Regions from separate parts of the Homo sapiens genome. Here region 2 is linked to region 1. The links are contacts of gene promoters, found by promoter capture Hi-C in human tissues and cell types (Jung and others, 2019). All regions are on one chromosome and are shown on one strand. The core of a region is centred on a gene start or on the middle of the fragment in contact, and the rest is flanking DNA. Distances in the headings are between cores, read along the strand shown.

What was found. Contacts are between HindIII fragments. The study calls those that stand out against the background at their distance.
Region 2: a contact is called between a fragment that was not itself captured here and the fragment with the promoter of DBH in region 1, in 2 of the 25 tissues and cell types used here (IMR-90 fibroblasts and spleen).

Annotation. Positions count from the first base shown.
Region 1 is chr9:133,634,280-133,639,116 of GRCh38, reverse strand. DBH (dopamine beta-hydroxylase) reads right to left here and starts at 2,754. Exons shown (of 12, transcript NM_000787.4): 1 at 2,407-2,754. The coding sequence starts at 2,745. RefSeq lists an enhancer at 754-1,489. The HindIII fragment of the contact is 16,885 bases long and covers 1-4,837 here.
Region 2 is chr9:133,501,380-133,506,216 of GRCh38, reverse strand. No RefSeq gene overlaps it. Among named protein-coding and RNA genes, the nearest start is that of MYMK, 21 kb to the left of the region's middle. The HindIII fragment of the contact is 3,478 bases long and covers 876-4,353 here.

The DNA.
Region 1 (4,837 bases), core at 1,505-4,004:
CCAGCCTGAAGCACCACTTTAAACCCTGCAGCCTAGGCATTGTTCCCCTCACCTTAGTCCCAGCCCTGCTTGGAGAAGGTAAACTGAGGCCCAGGGAGGCATTGGACCTGCTGCATTCTCCGAGGATGCTTCCTGGGATCTGGATCAGTGACCTCTGCCCTCCCCGTCTCCGGCCGCTCCCCTTGCACTGGGCCCTAAGGGGCAGGGACACGGTGGCCCGAGGCCAGGTCACATGGAAGACCACCAGGGAGACCCACTGAGAGACAGCGAGGAGCCTTCCCCAACAAGCAGGCTGCCCTTCGTACTCAAGAAGGGCCCTTCTTAGATTCCATATTTGTCTATTTGGCATCTATTAATTGATTGAAGGCTCAAACAGATGGTCAGAGTTGTTTACACCTGTCCTGCCCTCCAACATTCACACGTGTGTGAGAATCATATTCCTAACATTCCGACCCACACCAAGCCCATATCCCTAGCTACCTCCTCCACCTGACTCTCACACCCCAGGCCAATATTGCCCCAACCCTAAAACACCCTAGGGCCAGGAACCAGGCAACTAGAGACCACCCCAGCCACCCAGAGCCCACCAGAATTGTCCAAACGAAGCTGCTTCCCTGCCCTGCCTGGCCTTTCCCATGGAAACCCCAAGAAAGCCTCGGGCCCTTGGCCTTAAGGACTTTGGGTTGTGTTTCTTTTTAATCTTACATTCAGGGTAAAACATCTTTTCTTCATTTCCTTGAGAAAAAAGAAATCTGCAAAAGATACTGCAAAACTTTCCCTAGAGAAAAAAGCCACACAATGCAACCCCGCTGGGGACACCGCTGGTTTGCCGAGAGACTCATTTTAAACAGAGGCAGAAAGTTCGCCTGTGATATTTCAGCTGGAAATCAAGAAGATATTAGTTGAACATATTGCTTAGGGAGGAATAATAAGGCTGACATTTGCTTTCGTAGGAATTTGTTGTGCAAATTAACCTTGCCAGTGCACGGAAAGGCAAAGTCACCTGGCTTCCTCTGGCTTCCCTAGCAGCCGGGAAATGCAGGCAGGGGGGACGCTGCCCCAGAGAGGAGCAAATGCTCCTGCACTCAGGGTGCCTCATGGCAGAGGCTTGCGAAGAACCCCAAACTGTCAGCGATGGGGTTCAGCTGCTCCTCCAGACGGCTGACGGCTCAGAATCAGGGCTGTCCCAGGTCTTTCTTGGCTGGAACCTGAGCCACAGAGTGTCTTTGTGCACAGGAATCTGTGCAGCCCTATGGGTCAGAGCAGGGCCCTTCCCAGGCAGCTCCACTCACCCTACCTGGGTGGCCCTAAGCCTCACTAGCGACACAGGCAAGTGCCTCCTGGCCGAGTCTTGGGAATTGGAGGGGGCAAGCTCAGCTCCAGAAACAGCAGCCACCATCTGCCCTCATGAATTCACAACACCCAAAAAGGCAGAGAGGGACTCTCCGCCCCACCAGCCCATGGTGAGACCAAGATGCAGAGCTGGAGCCGGCCGCTCCGCACAGACACAGCTCCCCCGCTCCAGCTCGGCACTCCCAGATAAAGCAGGCACCTCCTGACTTCAGAAATAAAACTTTTTTGTCACTCCTTTGTGTGTTTCTGTGGAGAGAGTTGGGTTTCATCCACAAAGAAGCCCTGGTGGCCAGTCCCATGTGGAAAGGAAGGCTGGAGCAGGACCCATTGTAGGCGGTGGGCTCGCCCACTTCGGGGACCCCCTGCAGCTTGTGGAAGGGCCTAAAGTCCCCTCCAGTTTGAAGGGAAACTTTTCCCCTTTCTCCACCCTGTGAAACAAGAGTGGAGGTAAATTTGGACGGAAAGGAGTCAAGAGCCCATCCTAACAGTTTTGGCTGAGCCCTGTGGGGCTTGTTCAACACCTATGGGTAGGGGCAGGGTGTCTGCACCTGCTCAGTTGGTCCACGGGTACAAGCACAGTAGGTCAGGCTGGATCCCATGGGTGTGCAGGCCTCATGCTGTGCCCAGCCACGCGCCACCACCTGGCCCACATCAGTGGGCATGTGTGCTCTGGGGACGTGGTACTAGGCATTGTTTACAGGGCCGAGGGTCGTGGGGTCTGTGCTCATGCGCGTGTGGGGTGTGGAGCGGCACGAGTGTGTGTGGTGTGTGCGTCCTCTGTGTATAGTTCCATTCCTTGGGATTACTGGGTCCCATGATTTGGGGCGGGCAGTCAAGGACCATGGAAAGCATGTCTTTCCTATTTTGTCCTCAAACTGAGATCCCCATGATGCCCAAGCTCGGGGTGCAGACTTGGCTCAGAGCAGAGTCAACTCAAACACTGACAGGTGACAGAAGAACTTTCTGGGTTAAGGAGGGTGAGTGCAGAAAGACGGCCAGATGGGGTGCCGGGTCAGGAAGGGTTTGGAGAGCTGGCAGGGAGGAGAGACTCACCGCAAAATAGGCAGTGTCCCCATCGGTCCAGAGCACCACGAGATCTGCGTTCTCAAGCTCGCCACGGTCGGACATCCCAAACAGGACGCCAGCCTTGAGCCTCCGCACCAGGAGCTGGAAATGGATGGCCTCCTGGGTGTAGCTGACATTCCATGAGAGCTCCAGGGACCCCTCCGGGTCCAGGGGGATGTGATAGGGGAGGGGGCTCTCACGGGGAGCCGAGCCCTGCAGTGCGGCCACCAGGATGACCAGGAAGATGGCCACTGCTGTGCTGTACATGAAGGCTGCCTCCCGCATGCTGGGGCCGGGCAGGCTGGCCCAGCGACTGAGGGCGGGCATGGCTGGGGTGAGCTCTCTGGTCCCACCTGGCCATTTATGCCCTGGTCCTGAATGGGGTGGGTCCAGGCAGCACGGGTAATCACATTTGTCTAGCGGGGAATCCAATTTTCCCTCCCACAAGCTTGCGCCCCAGGCCAAGCACTCAGCCTGCTGCCCTCCTCTAATTGGCACTAATGACACATGGACGTCATCAGTGGGAGTTGAAGTAGACAGGCGGATGCTGTCCCTTCTGAGATGGCTCTGAAGAGCTGTCCCAAAAGCAGATGCACCCTGCAGCCAAGAGGCCTTTCAGACACCCTCTGGCCAGGCACCAGCTGACTGCCTCACAGGCTGTCTGGCCCAGTCCCCAGTGGGATGGGGTCTGCGTCGCCTCTACCCACGGATGAGCAGACTGAGGTCCGAGGAGCTGCTCCAGGCTGACCAGTGAAGGATAGGCCCGTAGCCACTGCAGGCCTGGCCTAGCGAGCAGAGCCGTTTGTACAATACTAGCAGGTGGGCCCATTTCAAACCAAAAATAAGACAATCTCCAAATAGTCCCTGTGTTTAGACACTCTCTCCACGGCCTGCTCTTCCCACTTTTGTCTCCTCTCAATTTTTCCACAGCCTCCAGCTGGTACCACTGCTGCTCCAGAAGGCGCGAGAGCATCATAGGGAGTGGGGGACATGGGCGTGGGGTGCATTGCTGGGGACAGACGGAGCTGGAGCTGCACAGGGGATAGGCAGGCTGCAGGGTGCACTGCTGGGGGTGACAGCCTTTAAGGAAAAGAGGGTGAGTGACAGGCCTGCTCCCCTGTCTCTGAAGCTCCCAAACCCACAGCTTCCTCTTGCCCAGAGCAGATCTGGCCTGAATTTGAAGCCTCTCAGGGCAGCTGGCCGCAGCCCTGCTTCTCCCACACCTGCCACAGGACCTTTGCCATCATCCACCCGTGGGCCCGAGGGTCAGTCTCACCACGGCACCTCTCCCTCCTGTCCTCTCCCACAAGTAGACTGAGGGCAGCTGCCTTCAGGACATTCTGCTTGATCCCTCCAGCTCCACCCCCCAGGCTGGGTTGACAGATCTCTCCAGCTGGACTAGAAGCTGTCCCTCCTCCCCAGCCTCCTCCCTCCCTTCCTTCCTTTTCCCTCCTGTTTCTCGTCTCTCTGGAGAAACCCAGAATCTAGCCTTAGGGGCACATTCATGTCATAGGCTGACAGCAACATTTAGGTCCTTAAATACCCATGACAGCAGGTCTGGAGGCTGCTTCAGCTCTGAGCTCTACGCTGTAGAAAGGAATGACTGTGTCTTTGCACGAACGTGAAATTTGGAGAAAGTGCCAGCCTTCCCCTGGCCCTCGCAGGCAGTGCTCTCTGCCCCACAGTGGCCAGGCCATCCTGCAAAGCCAAGCTCAGGCCATGAGCCCCTCCCCACTGATTGCACCCAGAGGGGCACCGTTCGCCCCCACCCACAGCCCAGGCAGGTGAGGTCCAAGTGCATAATCACCTGTGCAATAGAGTGTGGCATTGGTGTGAAATTGTCTCCCAGGCCAGGGGAAAGACACTCTTGGGAGTTCTCTGGTGAGCCTTGGGAAGGGTCTCAGCCTCCGAAGGCCTGGCTTTCCCATCAGGACATGCCACCTCCGTCGCCTGAGAGCACCTCACCTTCATGCCTCAGATTAGTTCCAAAACCTCCTCACCTGTGCCTTGTAAGCAGGTGTCTGCTGCATCCCGGACATTCACTCTCGGGACTGGGGAGCGGCCACAGCGAGCCGGTGATACGAAGAGCCTCCGGGGTGGGCAGGCACTGGTGTTCCCAGCACGGGATAACAAAAGCCAGCAGAGGCAGAGGTGAGGGTCACGGGCTCCACAGCACACCCAGCTCAGGGGTGAGCCCTCCCAGCAGCCTGGTGGCCACCCAGGTGGCTCCAGCTAGACAACAGGCTAAACGAGCACCAGCTGGGGCCCGCGTTGTGGGAAGGGGGGCACCTCTCTCCCCTCTGGGGTATTGAGGCCCCAGGCACCCCTCCTGCTCCTCCGGGGTCAGAGCTCTGGGGTCATATCCTGCTCCGCCCTCCTGAATGCGCAGCTGGCGTCCTCAGAGAAGCGCTTTCCAACC
Region 2 (4,837 bases), core at 1,365-3,864, 130 kb after region 1:
CCCAAGCTTAGGGCCAGTGGCCGGGCCTGGCCAGGGCTTCTGCCCAATCACTCCCTTCCCTTCCGAGAAGCTGGGTCCCTTGGGCCTTCATTGGGTTTTGTTTTCCTAACAGCTAGGCTAACGGGAGCCTGCTGGCCTAGAGCCCCGGCTGGAGCCAGGCTATCGAGTAGCTGCGGCCACATCTGGAAGACGTTTGGGCAGAGTTCGGCCCCCGCACCACAGCAGGCTGATAAGCGTCTGCTGCTGGCTTGGAGCTCCGGGAAGCTGCAGCCTCAGACCACCGGCCCTGGCTGCCTGAGCCTTCCAGAGGTAGGAGAGGAGGGGCAGAGGAAACTGGGGCGTTCTCTGGCCCCTGGCCTGCCAGCCCATTCCAGAAACCACAATGGCAGAACCAAAGATGTCAGCACAGAAGGCAGCCTAAGAGGCCCCAGAGCTCCACTTGTCCCTCCTGCAGACACCTGCTCTTCTATGCTGGGTCCCATGGTGCCTTCGCCCTACCAGTTGTCGAGATCACTCCCGTGACGGTCTTTAGGCCTGGACCAGGCTCTCGCACCTGGGACCACTTCCTCATCACCATGCATCTTAGTCATCTTGGCTTCCCCATCTCACCAGCTGGAAAACCAAGGATCCACGGAGTGTCTGCATGGGTGAGACCTCACACTGACAGAGCCAGGACACGGCCCCAAGTTTGGGGTCTCTGAGTCCTGTGTGCTGTACACTGCACTCACGGCCTCCTTTGTCCTGCCCTGTTCTGCCACTGGATGGCCCAACAGAGGTCTTCACTGTGGACCAGCGAAGCCCCTAGGCACCGCCTCCTGAGCTGTGAGCTCGCAGGGATCTTGGCTGTTGGGCTCATCACAGTGCAGTGGGACAGAATTCTAGGCAGCCAAGTGCCTGACTGATCCCACAGACAGCACCCAGCAAGTAACAAGTACATGAATCAGAAAACAAGCCACGAAGGAGGGGGAGGAGGTTGAGTCTCCCATCATTGGCTCTCGCAGTGCCTGCCAGACACTGTTAGAAGTGCTTTATGTGCTTGAGCCCAGGAGTTCGAGACCAGCCTGGGTAATATAAGGAGACCCTGTCTCTACAAAAATAATAATAATTATTATTATTTTAAAATATGGGCCAGGCGCAGTGGCTCACGCCTGTAATCTCAGCACATTGGGAGGCTGAGGCAGGTAGATCACCTGAGGTCAGGAGTTCGAGACCAGCCTCGCCAACATGGTGACACCCCGTCTCTACTAAAAATACAAAAATTAGCGGAGCGTGGTGGCGCATCCTGCAGTCCCAGCTACTAGGGAGGCTGAGGCAGGAGAATCGCTTGTACCCAGAAGGTGGAGGTTGCAGTGAGCTGAGATCACACCATTGCACTCCAACCTGGGCAACAAGAGCAAAACTCCATCTCAAAAATTAATTAATTAATTAAAAAATTAAGAAGTGCTTTCTGGATAGCGGCTGTTAGGTCTCTCAACTGCCCTGTGAGACAGGTACCGGACTGCCCTCCTAATGTTCATGATGATGTCTTCTTCCTTACTTTGCAGATAAGGGCGATTTCAAACTATTTTATCGCCATCATCATTATTGTTCTAACTGGTACTGAGGTCGGTCAGAAAACACAGTCTCTGAGACGGCAAGCCTTCACAGCGGCTGTCTCTCTCTATGGCCCAGCATGTGGTCAGCTTCCATGACGGCCCCGTGTAGTCCTGCCCTTGGCCTTCTGTGTGAGTCCGTCAAGTCAAGCTTCTTGACGATGCTGCTTAAATCTGTCATTACCAAGTATTTGCCTACTTGCTATCAACTCCTGAGAGAGGGGTGTAAAAATCTCCCACTCAGGCTGGGTGCAATGGCTAACACCTGTAATCTCAGCACTTTGGGAAGCCGTGGTAGGAGGATTGCTTAAGCTCAGGAGTTCAAGACCAATCTGGGCAACATAGCGAGACTCCACCTCTACAAAAGAAATTTTAAAAATTAGCTGGGCGTGGTGGCGCACACCTGTAGTTCCAGCTACTCAGGAGACTGAAGCAGGAGGATTGCTTGAGCCCAGGAGGTCGAGGTTGCAGTGAGCCGAGATCTCGCCACTGCACTCCAGCCTGGGTGACAGAGCAAGACCCTGTCAAGAAAAAAGAAAAAAGAAAAGAAAAGAGAATTCCCCCACTCTGCAAAGGACAGTCTTTAACACAAATAATGCTGGAACAAATCAATGTCCCGAGGCATCAAAGTGAACCTCAACCTTTTTTTCACATCCCACCCCAAAATTAACTCCAAAAACTAGAAAACCTCTAGCAGAAAACATCAGAGAAAATCTTTGTGACCTTGGATTAGGCAAAGATTTCTTAAATATGACACCAAAGGTGTGATCCATCAAAGAAAAAAACTGATCAACTAGACCATCAAAATTGTAAATATTTACCCTTCAAAAGACATCACGAAGAAGCAGACTGGGAGGAAACATACATAACCCTTTAAAGAGTTAGAATGTATATGCTAATTCCATTCCTTTAGTGGTAGTTCATCAAAGTTTCTAGTAAATTCATATCTTTACCCTCCCCTTGAACATCGCAGGACCATAGAACCTTTTAATTCCAATTATTTCCCTCCTAACTTTAAGACGATTATTACCTTGTATTTTTCTTTTATCTTCATTTAAACAACACATGACATTTTTACCACCAATAATTGTTTAGATTTGCCCACATATGACAATCTCTTCGACTTTCATCTCTTCTTATACCCCAATTTTTTCATCTGGGGTTATTTTCCTTCTGGCTCAAACATATCTTTTAAAACTTCCTCAAGTGGCCGGGCATGGTGGGCTCACACCTGTAATTCCAGCACTTTGGGAGGCTGAGGTGGATGGATTGCTTGAGCCTAGGGGTTCCAGACCAGCCCTGGCAACATATGGAGACCCCCATCTCTACAAAAAAAAAAACAAGAATTAGCTGGGCATGGTGGTGCACACCTGCAGTCCCAGCTACTCAGGAGGCTGACGTGGGAGGATCACCCAAGTCTGAGAGTTCAAGGCTGCAGTGAGCCATGATTGCACCACTGCACTCCCATCTGGGCAACAGAGTGAGACCCTGTCTTAAAAAATAAAATTAATTTTACAAAAAATTTCCTTAAGCAAGGGTTGTTTGTGGGACACCTTCTTGATTTTTATTTGCCTATGATTGTCTTTATTTTTTTCACTGAATATTGAATTGTATAGGTGGGTAATCCTTTGTGTCTTTATTTTTTCCACTGGATATTGAATTCTAGGTTGACAATCATTTGCATCTTTAATTTTTTTCACCGGATATTGAATTCTAGGTTGGTAATCATTTGCTCTGAGCATTTTGAAGACATCATTTCTCTGTTTCCTAATTCCCATTGTTGCTCCTGAATAGTAAGTTCTCAGCGTAACTATCTTTGAAGATAATCTATATTTTCTCTTGGGCTCTTTTATAAGACTTCTCTTGGTCTTCAATGTTCTGTATTTTTATTCTTATGTGACTCGTGTGGAATCCTTTTTCTTTGGCTTGCTTGAGAGTCACTGGGCTTCTTAAATTTGTGGGTTGCTATCTTTCATTATATCTGAAATAGTTTCAGCCATAATCCTCTTCAAATATTGCCCCTACTCCTATTCTATCTCTCTTCATTTTCTGGAAATCCAATTAGCAATATGCTTACATTTGCACGCAAGTCCTCATGTTCTTTATATTTCCCAGTTCTTTATCTTTCAGGAGTGCAACTCTCCTAATGTCTTTTGCCTTATCCTTCAGTTCATCAATTCCTTCTTCGGTCATGTCTAAACTGTGGTTAAGCTATCTTTTGAGTTTTTCATTTTGATTGTCATGTTTTTATTTCTAAGAGTATGTTTGGTTCTTTTTCAAGTATGCTTGTTCTTCATTAATACATCCAAGCCTCTTATTTCTTCCATAAAACACATTTATTTTCCAGTCCTGCTATTTTTAGTATCTAAATGTTTGGCTGATCTGATTCTACTGCCTGTTGTTTCTGTTGACTTTCCCTCATGGTGTCTTGTTTCCTTGTATATTTAGTGATTTTTTTTTTACTCTGAACTGCTCATTTGCTGTGGAACTTTATGGAAATTTTCTGAGGCCTGAGGTAAAGGCAGAGTCCTTTAGAAAGTAATTGTATTTACTTCTGTCAAACAATTGAGGCACTTCCAATCTGACACTCCTTTAAACTAAAATCCCTTGTTTTGGATAGTTGAGGAAATGTGGATTCAGGCTACATACACACACACGTAGTTCAGGTTATAGTTATTAATTCTTAGAGAATGCTTTTCCTGCTCCACTTGGCACCAAAGTTTGCTACAGGCAGTGCCGATGTAGTATCCAAAGGGGAAATAGATTTTCTAGTTTCCCATGACAGTGAGGTGTAGCCCATGGAGTCCCACATTGAAGGAATGGTCTTCCACTAGACTCTCCTGCATGGCCAGGCTCTGTGCTTTGTCTTCTGACCTCTAGCCACAAAAGTAGTCAAAAAATGATGCTCAGGTTTGCCTATGAGAATAAAAAATTTCAATTCTCCAACTTCAAAATGAAAAGATAGGCTGTTGTCTGGCCACAGCAACAAGCAAACACCAGCATTAAGTCCGTCTCAATCTAGTAGTGACCACTTTCTTTGGTCAACCAACCAGCAGTAGCCCCTCTCCAATAACTAGTCTCCCTCAGTTAGAGATCAATCATTCCCCAAGCTCTCCCACTTCTGAAAGCCTCCTATGCCTGAACTCCACTCTTCCTGAAACACTATGAAGGCCAGCAGTTTGCTTTGTTCGGGCAGTCTGAGCCTTACAATTATAGCTCTCCCATGCTGAACAAGCAATAAGTTC